Linked DNA regions of Homo sapiens: all the other regions are linked to region 3. Evidence: promoter capture Hi-C in human tissues and cell types (Jung and others, 2019). All regions are on one chromosome and are shown on one strand. Each heading gives the region's core, a stretch centred on a gene start or on the middle of the fragment in contact. The rest is flanking DNA. Distances are from core to core; before and after follow the strand shown.

The links. Contacts are between HindIII fragments. The study calls those that stand out against the background at their distance.
Region 1: a contact is called between a fragment that was not itself captured here and the fragment with the promoter of GREM1 in region 3, in 2 of the 25 tissues and cell types used here (heart right ventricle and thymus).
Region 2: a fragment that was not itself captured here is called in contact with the fragment with the promoter of GREM1 in region 3 in 1 of the 25 tissues and cell types used here (mesendoderm cells).
Region 4: a fragment that was not itself captured here is called in contact with the fragment with the promoter of GREM1 in region 3 in 4 of the 25 tissues and cell types used here (dorsolateral prefrontal cortex, lymphoblastoid cells, mesendoderm cells and 1 more).

What each region holds. Positions count from the first base shown.
Region 1 is chr15:33,049,171-33,051,870 of GRCh38, forward strand. All of the region lies in intron 6 of FMN1 (formin 1), which reads right to left. Among named protein-coding and RNA genes, the nearest start is that of FMN1, 140 kb to the right of the region's middle. The HindIII fragment of the contact is 4,194 bases long and covers 1-2,700 here.
Region 2 is chr15:33,159,655-33,162,354 of GRCh38, forward strand. The region is part of intron 3 of FMN1 (formin 1); the gene reads right to left. Among named protein-coding and RNA genes, the nearest start is that of FMN1, 34 kb to the right of the region's middle. The HindIII fragment of the contact is 3,813 bases long and covers 1-2,700 here.
Region 3 is chr15:32,716,570-32,719,269 of GRCh38, forward strand. It overlaps GREM1 (gremlin 1, DAN family BMP antagonist), which reads left to right and starts at 1,435. Exons shown (of 2, transcript NM_013372.7): 1 at 1,435-1,592. GREM1-AS1 (GREM1 antisense RNA 1) reads right to left here and starts at 2,296. Exons shown (of 2, transcript NR_109767.1): 1 at 1,976-2,296; 2 at 1,532-1,795. RefSeq lists enhancers at 941-1,441, 1,579-2,157, 2,158-2,700. The HindIII fragment of the contact is 12,229 bases long and covers 1-2,700 here.
Region 4 is chr15:33,075,497-33,078,196 of GRCh38, forward strand. The region is part of intron 5 of FMN1 (formin 1); the gene reads right to left. LOC124903459 (a long non-coding RNA gene) reads left to right here. Exons shown (of 2, transcript XR_007064574.1): 2 at 1-1,223. Among named protein-coding and RNA genes, the nearest start is that of FMN1, 120 kb to the right of the region's middle. The HindIII fragment of the contact is 4,514 bases long and covers 1-2,700 here.

The DNA of each region.
Region 1 (2,700 bases), core at 83-2,582, 330 kb after region 3:
TTTTGGTCACATTGTAACCTAAGTGAGAACCTAACCAGAAAGGGGGAATTTTTTTTAAACAAAATTATGGGAGGCCCTTGTTTTGGACTTAGCTCATGCATTAGGCCCCAACAGACAAAACCAAACAAAAATGAAGTCACTTGTGGTAAATGTGACATTATCAAACTGAGACTTTAAGGAAACACATAGCTCCTAGACCAGAACAGACCAGGTTTGTTCTCCTAAAAACAAGATGTTCCAACATAAGGGGATACCCTCTACTCAAGTCCTTGTTCCTACCTTTGCAAAACTCACAGTTCTGTTTCCAGGGGGTTTCAAGACCAAATTAGTAATTTATGATGGTGATAGTGATAGTAATGACTAAAGTTTTGGTCAATCTCTCAAAATTGAGAAAATGACCAAAAGAGGGGAATTGTTAAATCAAGTTTAGTCTAAAGCTACCTTCTTACATATTTAAGTTCAGCCTACAGGTTTTTCTATACATCGTGAACTATAACAAGTGGAGATGTAAACTGACCTCAGCCAACACCTGTGCCAATCACTGAGTTTTAGCCAATAAAATGTAGCCAACTGTCCAAATCGTGTTCAAATAAGGCAAACACTAAGCTCTAATTAATCCCGTTGCTTCTGTACTTCACTTATGTTTTCTGTACGTCACTTTCCTTTTGCTGTCTATAATTGTTGTTCCACCACATGGCTGCACTGGAGTCTCCCTGATTCTGCCATGATTCTAGGGGCTGCTCAATTCACGAATTGTTTATTGTTCAATTAAACTCCTTTAAATTTAATTCAGCTGAAGTTTTTTCTTTTAACACAACCAATATAACCATTCTATTTTTCACTTCTGGTACAGTATTCAACAAATTATATTAGATATTCAACACTTTATTACAAAATAGGCTTTGTGTTCAATGATTCTGCCCAACTGTTGGCTAAAGTGTGTTCTGAGCATATTTAAGGTAGGCTTGGCTAAGGTGATGTTCAGTAGGTTAGGCGTATAACGTGTATTTTGACTTACAATATTCTCAACTTATGTTTATCAGAACATAACCCTATTGTAAGTCAAGAAGCATCTGTATACATATTGTTAAACTTTAGGTTGGAAAATGCTTCCTTTAGACCAGATTTCACTACATAAAACTTTTGTATAATGAAAGACACCATGAAAGAAGAGTCATGGCAAGTTAGAGCCTAAGATTCCAATACATACAATGATAAAAGGATTTTTTTTTTAATACATAGAAAGCTTCTTCAAATCAGTAAGAAAAATGACTAAGAACCTCATTTTCAAAAGGACCAAGAACACCAGGAAGCTCATAAGAAATCCAACTGGTCAATAAATGAAAAGATGTCCAACACCACTTATATCAGAAAAATACAAATTTAAAAAACAGTGTGTGATTTTTAACCCATTACATAGGCATAAATTAAATAAATGCTGGTGAAGTATGAGTAATGGGCATTCTTTCTTTGGTTTAATATTCTGAGAGGCCAACTGTGTAGTATCTACCAAGTAATGGGCCAGGACACAACAATTCCACTTCAGTCCTATCAAGGTACTCACAGGTATGCATAAACCAAATATACAAGAATTTAATGACAGCATTATTTGCAAACAGTGAAAGATTCTGAGCAATCAAAAGGTTCATTACTACAGGCATAGGTCTATAAATTACTACTGTATGGAATACTATGCAGCCATTAAAATAATGAGGAAGAGGGAGAGTGCCCTGTATGCACTGACATAGAAAGGTTTCAGTATATGGTAAAAAGCAGCTCATCTTAGAACAGATTTTATAGTATGACCCCACTTGTGTGGAAATATTTTGTGATGTGCCACTCAGTGTATACGTATTCATGAGTGCATATACAAGTGTGTGAGAAGCAATGTAAGTAACTGTTCACAAGGACCCCCCCTTTAAGAAGGCAGAGGGATCGGGGGATATAGAGTGAAGGATGATTTTTGCTTTTTCCTCTATATATATACCATTCTCTGAATTAGGTATGATCATTCCAGGGTATGTTCCTTGGATTTTTTACACTGCTTCCTTCTATCCTTCCTGAGAATCAGATGTGTCCTCTTTAATCAGAATTGAATAAAACAGTCTGGGAAAGGTTAAGGTGAATTATGGCTGGGCTGAAAGAAATGGGGGCCACATTAAAAATGGAAAGAAAAAACTAAACTGGAAGTCAGAAGACCAACTTTCTAGTCCTGGTTCTGTTGTTACAGTAGGTAGCTAGTCAGACATGAGCAGGGCAGGAGAGGGTCCCCTGCCACCACCAGGATGTCGGGCAACCATCAGGTGATAGGTGGTTGTGACAGTGCCGCTCTAATAATTGGTCACACCTGGTGCCAGAGAAAGGCAGTCTCCCAATAGATATAAACACCTGAAACTGGTGATCAGCAGCTTCCTAGTAAGATCTCAGGAGTTGGGTGAGTGGGCTCAAGCATGGGCATGAAGAGGCAAAACAGCAGAGTTTTTAGCTGGTATATGACCTTCCTCTAGAAACGCTTGACTGGTTAGGGAAAAATGCCTCAAGTGAGCACGTGTACAACTCCAATAAACACACTGTACATGCAGCCCCTCCCAAGTGCTGGCAGGCCACTGCACATGCTGATAGCCCACTCCAAGGGAGGAATCCGGGGAGAAGGACGCAAGACCCCGGAAGCATACCAACATATAAAACCCCAAGTCAAAG
Region 2 (2,700 bases), core at 44-2,543, 440 kb after region 3:
CAGGCTTTGAAGTATCAACCAACTGTAAAGCAGCTAACTTTCTCAACTTTGTCCTTCAGTAGCCCCTAAGCCTGGACTCAAATGTGCCTGAAACATGGCAGTGAATATCAGCACAAACAGAGGAAGATATAGGAGGAGTCCTGTAATTCAGAATCAAGAATAGAAAGAAGTTTTCTTGTTGGCACCTAAAACTCTGAGGGAGGAGAACATTTCTCTATGATTAGAGGAACTGTAGTCCCAAGATGTATGGGGGAAAACCCTATTTCTTTTTCTCTCACTCTGTTCTGCCTCTCGTTGATTTCGGGTGTGGGCAGAGTTGCAGGAAGTTTGCAGCCAAAGAGTTGGAGGGTTAGTAGTCCTAGATTTCTAGTTAGAGGACTGAAATCAGAGCCTCAGAGAGCCCAGAAGTATGGGAAAGATTATGGAGAAGGATCTTAGAAAGTGACCCATAAAGTTGTTCATGGATACCTGAATTAACCCCAGCCTGTGGATTGTGGATCTGAACTTAAACACCATACGAAGGGCTTTGAAAAAAAATGAAGAGATAAGACAACTTCCCAGGGCCTAGGCTGGCCACTGGGTGGCACATACATGGGATGGAACACTGCAAAAGCTTTGAAAATGGAACTGACATGAAAACCACAACCCACAGGAGGCTCATTGGAACTGGAGGACTGAGCCAAACCAGGTTGACTAGCTGGTTGTTTCAACAAAAAAGGATCTTCCCTGAGCAAATGAACTTCAACCTCAACCCTCTAGAGTGTTCCATGTCAGAAGAAGGCTTTAGACCAGGGCAAACTCTTCTCTGTGACAACCCATTAGAAAGTCAGAATGCAGTATGGAATCATCACACATATTTTTCATCCAAGAAACCAGAGGAAAAAGAGCAGTAAGTCCTAAGAGAAAAAAAGCAAAAGGACAGGAAATCACTGTGCATTGGGGTTAAATACACTGGCATTGCAATTCCATGCTGAGTTCACAGGACTATTTCAAACAGCATTGCCTCATTCTACTTGGACTCAAATGCAGCGGCTCTGCAGAGGCACACACTAAATTATACATCTTAATTTGGCCTGTGAAGTGACCTGCTCTGGTTATGTTCAAGGTAAAAGCACTTTGCTTCCCAGGGAGTCTTCGTGTCTTCTATTTCCTCTGACAGGCTCCAGGCTGGCATTCTGTCTATGACAACATTGCAGCAGTGATTTCTCCCTTGATTCTTTTTCCAATAAACAAGTAGATTACCTCACTCTACCCCAAATGGAAATATCTGTTCTGCCTCATCCTAATGAGAAATGATTGCCTTTTAGTAGATGCTATCTATTGTTCATAGCATATTTCACCAATGCTAAAAATAAGATTCAAGAATTAGTTGTCGTCATTCTGTCTGCTGACGGCAGACATCCTAATTGATTTTGGCCTTAAAAGGCCAATGCAAAGCTTTCTTTGCCTAGTCATTGGCACAGTCTTTCCCTGTGACTCCATCTGAGCCCAACACGGCTAAGACAGATTACCTGTATTCCATTTCTAAACTGGAAAATTTTTATTAGTTCAGTCAAATTCACACTCTACCTTTCACACCCTCCTAAGACCAAGAGACTGACTTTTATGAACTCAATCAACAAGTTTCCTTGCCCTGTGGCTTCTACTAGATTTAGCCATTGGGAAACAGTAACAGATTGGAGGGCAGATGGAAGAGGGCTCGGGACCTTTATCCCCTGACTCCCTATCTCCTGGGCTATAGTTTGGTAGTAGGCGTGCCCTCTAATGAAGACCACGCTCCTCTGGGGTAGTTCTCCTCCAGCTGCAGCTGCTTTCTCTGAGTACCATTACTGCCCCCTCCCCTTGCTCATTTAGTCCTAGATGGCTTTGAATTCTGCCTCTCCTGTGTGATTTTGGACAAGTTATTGCCTGCCTTTCTCCTTTCCATCCACCCTGGGATGGAGTGCAGCTTTTTCAAAGAGTAGATTAAAAAAACAAAGGAAGGCTGGGCGCAGTGGCTCACGCCTGTAATCCCAGCACTTTGGGAGGCTGAGGCGGGCGGATCACAAGGTCAGGAGATCGAGACCACCCTGGCCAACACGGTGAAACCCCGTCTCCACTAAAAATACAAAATATTAGCCAGGTGTGGTGGCGAGCACCTGTAGTCCCAGCTACTCAGGAGGCTGAGGCAGGAGAATGGCGTGAACCCGGGAGGTGGAGCTTGCAATGAGACGAGATCGTGCCACTGCACTCCAGCCTGGGTGACAGAGCAAGACTCCGTCTCAAAAAACAAAAAAGAAAAAAAAAAAAAGGAAGTTCTGCAATAGGTTAATGGCTCTTCTTCTTTCCATGGAGTTTTTCTTCTCTTTGCTTTCCTTTTTGTTTTTCTTCTTTCTGAGATAGGGTCTCGCTCTGTCACCCACGCTGCAGTGCAGTGGCGTGATCTCAGCTCACTGCAACCTCCAGCTTCTGGGCCCAGGCAATTCTCCTACCTCAGCTCCTCCAAGTAGCTGGGAAAACAGGTACATGCCATCATGCCCAGATAATTTTTGTATATTTTGTAGAGACAGGGTTTTGCCATGTTGTGCAGCCTGGTCTCAAACTCCCGAGCTCAAGTGATCTGCCCACCTTAGCCTCCCAAAGTGCTGGGATTACAGGGGTGAGCCACTGAGGGGTTTTTCTTTAAACAACCTCCACACTGTAGGAGTAAGAACGTAGGAA
Region 3 (2,700 bases), core at 185-2,684:
TGTAGAAACTGCCATCTGCACAAACAAAACATTGAGAGGACTAAGATTTTAAGGATACTAATGCAGACGTCCTTCTTGCTTCATTTATTTAAAAATATCTATTTCACGTTCCTAACAGCATCTAGTAGATGTTTCTTGCTTCTTCCCCCTAACGCCGGACTAAAGAGAAAAAAAAAATAGGCTGTTTTCTGGTCTGGTTTTGTTTTCCTAGTCAAGTACTTAAATTACGGGTGTTTCGTAAGTATCTTTTGATGGATTTCATTGTTTTGTTTATTTCGCGTTAGACAATACAGACACCTTCATATTTCCTTCTGTAGCAAATCTTTTTCAAAGTCTTCATTTGACGTGGCTGATGGAGCTGGTCTGCAGATCTTGCAGACGTGTTAATTTTTGCACGGACTTTAGCTTCAACACACAAAACTTACGGCCTCTTTGAGGAACCAATTTTTCAGGCTAAGAGAACAAATGAAAGTGTTCGCTCATCTTTCGAAAACTATTTATGTACTTGGTATCCGGAATGTGACATTGGTTTTACACGTCGGTAGGTTTTTGTCCTAAATTTCTGGGAAGTTACTTCCTCATCTAACGTTTTATTTTCCTGACTTATTCGTCTTTGATATGCTACAGAAAACCCCTCTCGCCCAGTGGCTGTTTTCTCTCTGTCTCTTAAGATAATTTAGGAACAGAAGCCTTGACTTTTGACGGTCATTTAGTTTTATTCTCCTCCCGTGACTCCCCTCTGTACACTCACAGGGGAGGCCGCCGGCATCTGGGCTGAAAGAACCCTTGGCGGGCGAGGAGAGCAGGGTGTCATGTTGGCGACAGGCTCCTGCTGGCGGCCAGCGAGCCCGCCAGGTTAACGGGGGCGCCGGGGTCAGCGCCCTCGAAGTTGGGGGCCTCGGGCGGGGCCGCCGGGGAGCCACGACGGCCGCTCGACCAGAGCATCCCGCAGTCCCGTTCCCTCCAGAGGGGAAGAATGGCCGAATCTGGCACGATCCCACGGAGATCTCGCTCTTCCCAGCGCAGTCTCCGCTACTGAGCGCGGGACCAACGCAGGCGATGCCGGGCGGCCGACAGGGAAAGCCCAGACCTGGGGCAGAGAAGGAATGAGGGGCCGCCAGCCGGGGGGATTTCCTCCCGCTCTTCCCTCTCCAACGGGAGCGGAAAATGTGATTTGCTGTGCATTCCAGGCGCGGTTCCCTGGGGTGACCTCTCCCAGCCGGCCCGGGCGGGGGGAGCAGACAAAGAGGCGAGGCGGGCGGAGAGGGGACCCCGCGGGGAAGCAGGAGGGGTGCGGGGGGCGGGGGCAGTACCGGGAAAGGGGGCGGATAGCGGGTCTGGCGGCGGCGGCGGCGCCTGGCCAATGGAGAGGCGCGGCCCCGGGCGCCGCGCTCTGCCGCCGGCATTTAAACGGGAGACGGCGCGATGCCTGGCACTCGGTGCGCCTTCCGCGGACCGGGCGACCCAGTGCACGGCCGCCGCGTCACTCTCGGTCCCGCTGACCCCGCGCCGAGCCCCGGCGGCTCTGGCCGCGGCCGCACTCAGCGCCACGCGTCGAAAGCGCAGGCCCCGAGGACCCGCCGCACTGACAGGTGAGCGCGGACGCACCCGGCAGGGATGTGAGTGGGCGGAGGGAAGAGGGCCGCAAACCAACCCAGGACCCGCTCAGTTCCACGCGCGGCAGCCCTCCGTGCGCGCAGGCTCGGGTGCGTTGTTCGCGGGGGTGAATTGTGAAGAACCATCGCGGGGTCCTTCCTGCTGAGGCCGCGGACACCGTGACCTCGCTGCTCTGGGTCTGCAGGGAAACGTAGGAAAAAAAGTTGTCAGGAGCGGGCAGGATGACCCCCACATCCCGTTTCCACCTCCCGGAGGCCCCCGAACACGCTCCTGGTGCTGGTGGCAGCAGCGCCTGGCAGACGCGCCCGCTTAGCGAGGGCGCGAAGTCCAGGCCGCCAGAGCGCAGGAGCATCCGGACCTGCTAGTCGGCCGCTGACTGCGCGGCGAGTTGCCTTGAGAGGGTCCCATGTGCTTGGGGCGCCGCGCTGGGTCTGGGGGCGTCTTGGGGCGCCCATTGGAGTCCGCGGGTTGGAGCATCCGGAGAATCCATGATGTGTGCATTTGCCGATCCCCGAGGTGAGATGGAGACTGGCAAGGGCAGAGCCGCTGTGTTCAGCCACAGCGGAAAACCGAACGGTGGGTAATCCGACAGCTGCGGTGCGGGGCGCGGCCCTGGCCGCGGGGTCCAGCGAACCCGCAGTGCTCACAAGGCAGACACCACACGCGCTCGCGGACCGGCCACGCACTCGCGGGCGCTCGCTTCTCTACTCCAGCCTCTTCCCCGCCCCGCGCACGCCCGGGCTGAATGGTAGACGTTCTGGCGCCGGGCAGCGGCCACCGGCTGGTTCCCACTTCCGCGCGCACCCCTTAAACTGTGTTCTAGAGGCCCCAGCCTCGCCTTGCAGCGCCTCACTAGCTCCTGAGGACTAGGGACTGGCGGCTGAGGCGGGTTGGCGGCTGCAACGAGCTGGGCGTCTTTCGTTCTCTCTCGCTGCCTGGCTGGCTCCGCTGGCCCCTCCACAGCTTGCGGAGCAAGGCCATAGCAGGGGAGTGGGAGGTATATTGGGGCTGTCACCTCCTTGCTGGCCGGAGTTATTTGTAGACTACAGACTCCGGAAGAACAGACGCGCCACCGCTCTCGCT
Region 4 (2,700 bases), core at 118-2,617, 360 kb after region 3:
CCTTTGGGTGTTGCAGGGCCAGTGTTTTCTGGATTGGATTCTTCCATCTGTGTCACTTGAGAAGAGAATAAAGTTTTCTCAAGTGGCCACTGCATAAGGTGACAAAGTTTGCCCTGTTCTTTATTTTGTTTCCCAAGCTCCAACATGATTTTTAAACCAACTCAGTTATTTGAGAGAAAAAAAAAATCCATGAATTTGGGGTTTCTTCCATCCTTTTCTCATGAGAAAAAGCATGCTGAAAATGAGACTAGGTGCCTTAGCACTGACATTTTCCCTTCTTTGGGGAAGGACTCTTCTGAGACAATGAGCAAGCCTGGGTCCTCCATAGCAGAGCACCAGCCATTTTATTTATTCATTTATTTTTGGTTTGGGGTCAATTCATTAGACTTCAAAAGTGCTGCTTCATTACAAATGAAATAAAAGATTACAGACATGAAAATCAACTTTGAAATAGTTATTACATTACTGGCTAGAATCCTACTCTCAAATATTTCTAAGACTGGGTTGTTCCACCAACCAGTGTCAAAGGTCCTCTAGAAATGGATTTAATATTGATGACAAAGTAAAATAATGTAAAAGGGGAGAGAAAGGCTGTGACTTCTGAAGCTGGGGGGCAGGGGGATGAGGGTTGGTGGGTAGCAGTCTTTAAAGTACAGAATTTCCTGGGATGTGTTTCAGAAGAGCTTTGAGCTTTCCCAAAGTGAAGGCATAATATTGCTGTTCCATATGGCTAATGACAGCAGAAGGCATGGAGTCTATGGTGAAAGCATTTCATTGTGACTAAGTTGCTCCTGATAAAAGATGAAGACCTGGAATTTATTAGACTACTTATGCCTGTTGCCTATATTCCCTTCTTCTCATGCAGTAAAGCGAGGCACTTCATGGCTACTGCTATAACTTTTTCTTTTCCTTAATTTTTTTAAAGTAAAAGTTATCTTGAGAATATTAGTTCGAACTCCAAAGATCCAGGTATCATTTCAAAATATTTTTAAAGGGGACAAAAGAAAATCTAGGGAAGGTGGGGATTTACCCAAAAGAAAATGAAGATGGATGGGAGGAGCATGCATGCTGTTCCAAGTAGGCACCATGCTCGGTTCTTTATGCAAGTTTTCTTGCAGCCTCACCCTCTCCATAACTCTATGAGAAAGATGTCATTAATTGCATTTGACAGATTATTACTGTCCAATGAAACTTTCTGCAATAAAGCCAGCATTTGCACTGGATCCATCTGATTCTAAATGTTTCTTTTCATGACAATAAATAAAAAAAACTACGGTATTTTATAACAGTTTTCTTTCCTACTAAACATAGGAAGGGAGGCAAAATAGATCTGCTGGTTACTCAGAACCAAATGGCTACTGAAATTAGAGGTTTACAGAGGGTAGAAAGGTCACAAATGAATCCTGAATCAGCAATGATTCTTTGATCCTAATACCCACATGATTAATTCAGACATTTAAAAAGAAAACTGTTGAAACAAATGTCAATGCACTAAAATTGCAAAGGAGAAGGTAAGTCAGGCATTGCCACAGCTATGATCCAATTTTTTTGAGACAGAGTCTTGCTCTGTCGCCTAGGCTGGAGTGCAGTGGGGGCAATCTCAGTTCACCACAACATCTGCCTCCCAGGGCGCAAGCCATCTTCCTGCCTCAGCCCCGAGTAGCTGGGACCACACGTGCATGCCACCATGCCTGGCTAATTTTTGTTTTGTTTTGTTTTCTAGAGATAGGGTTTCTCTATGTTGCTCAGGCTGGTTTCAAACTCCTGGGCTCAAGCGATCCACCTGCCTTGGCCTCCTAAAGCACTGGGATTACAAGTGTGAGCCACTGCGCCCGGCCCATCCTTTTTTTTTTTTTTAATATATATATATATATTTTTTTTATTATACTTTAAGTTCTAGGGAACATGTGCACAACATGCAGGTTTGTTACATATGTATACATGTGCCACGTTGGTGTGCTGTACCCAATAACTCGTCATTTACCTTAGGTATATCTCATAATGCTATCCCTCCCCCTTCCCCTGACTCCACAACAGGCCCCGGTGTGTGATGTTCCCCTTCCTATGTCCATGTGTTCTCACTGTTCAATTCCCATCCATGAGTGGGAACATGCAGTGTTTGGTTTTTTTCTCCTTGCAACAGTTTGCTGAGAATGATGGTTTCCAGCTTCATCCATGTCTCTACAAAGGCCATGAATTCATCATTTTTTATGGCTGCATGGGAGAAAATTTTTGCAACCTACTCATCTGACAAAGGGCTAATATCCAGAATCTACAAAGAACTCAAACAAATTTACAAAAAAAAAAAAAAACATCAAAAAGTGGGCAAAGGATATGAACAGACACTTCTCAAAAGAAGATATTTATGCAGCCAAAAGACACATGAAAAAATGCTCATCATCACTGGCCATCAGAAAAATGCAAATCTAAACCACAATGAGATACCATCTCACACCAGTTAGAATGGCGATCATTAAAAAGTTAGGAAACAACAGGTGCTGGAGAGGATGTGGAGAAATAGGAACACCAATTCTTAAACAGAGAGCAGAGAAAAAGTAGAGGCAATAAGGCTATGTCTTTGAAAAGGGACATATTGGGGTTTAGCATGAGATATTACTAGTCACACACTAGCTTTTTGTCACTTGAGGCAGGTTCTTTAACGTCTCTAAGATAGCATCCACGCGTAAAATGGGAAAAATA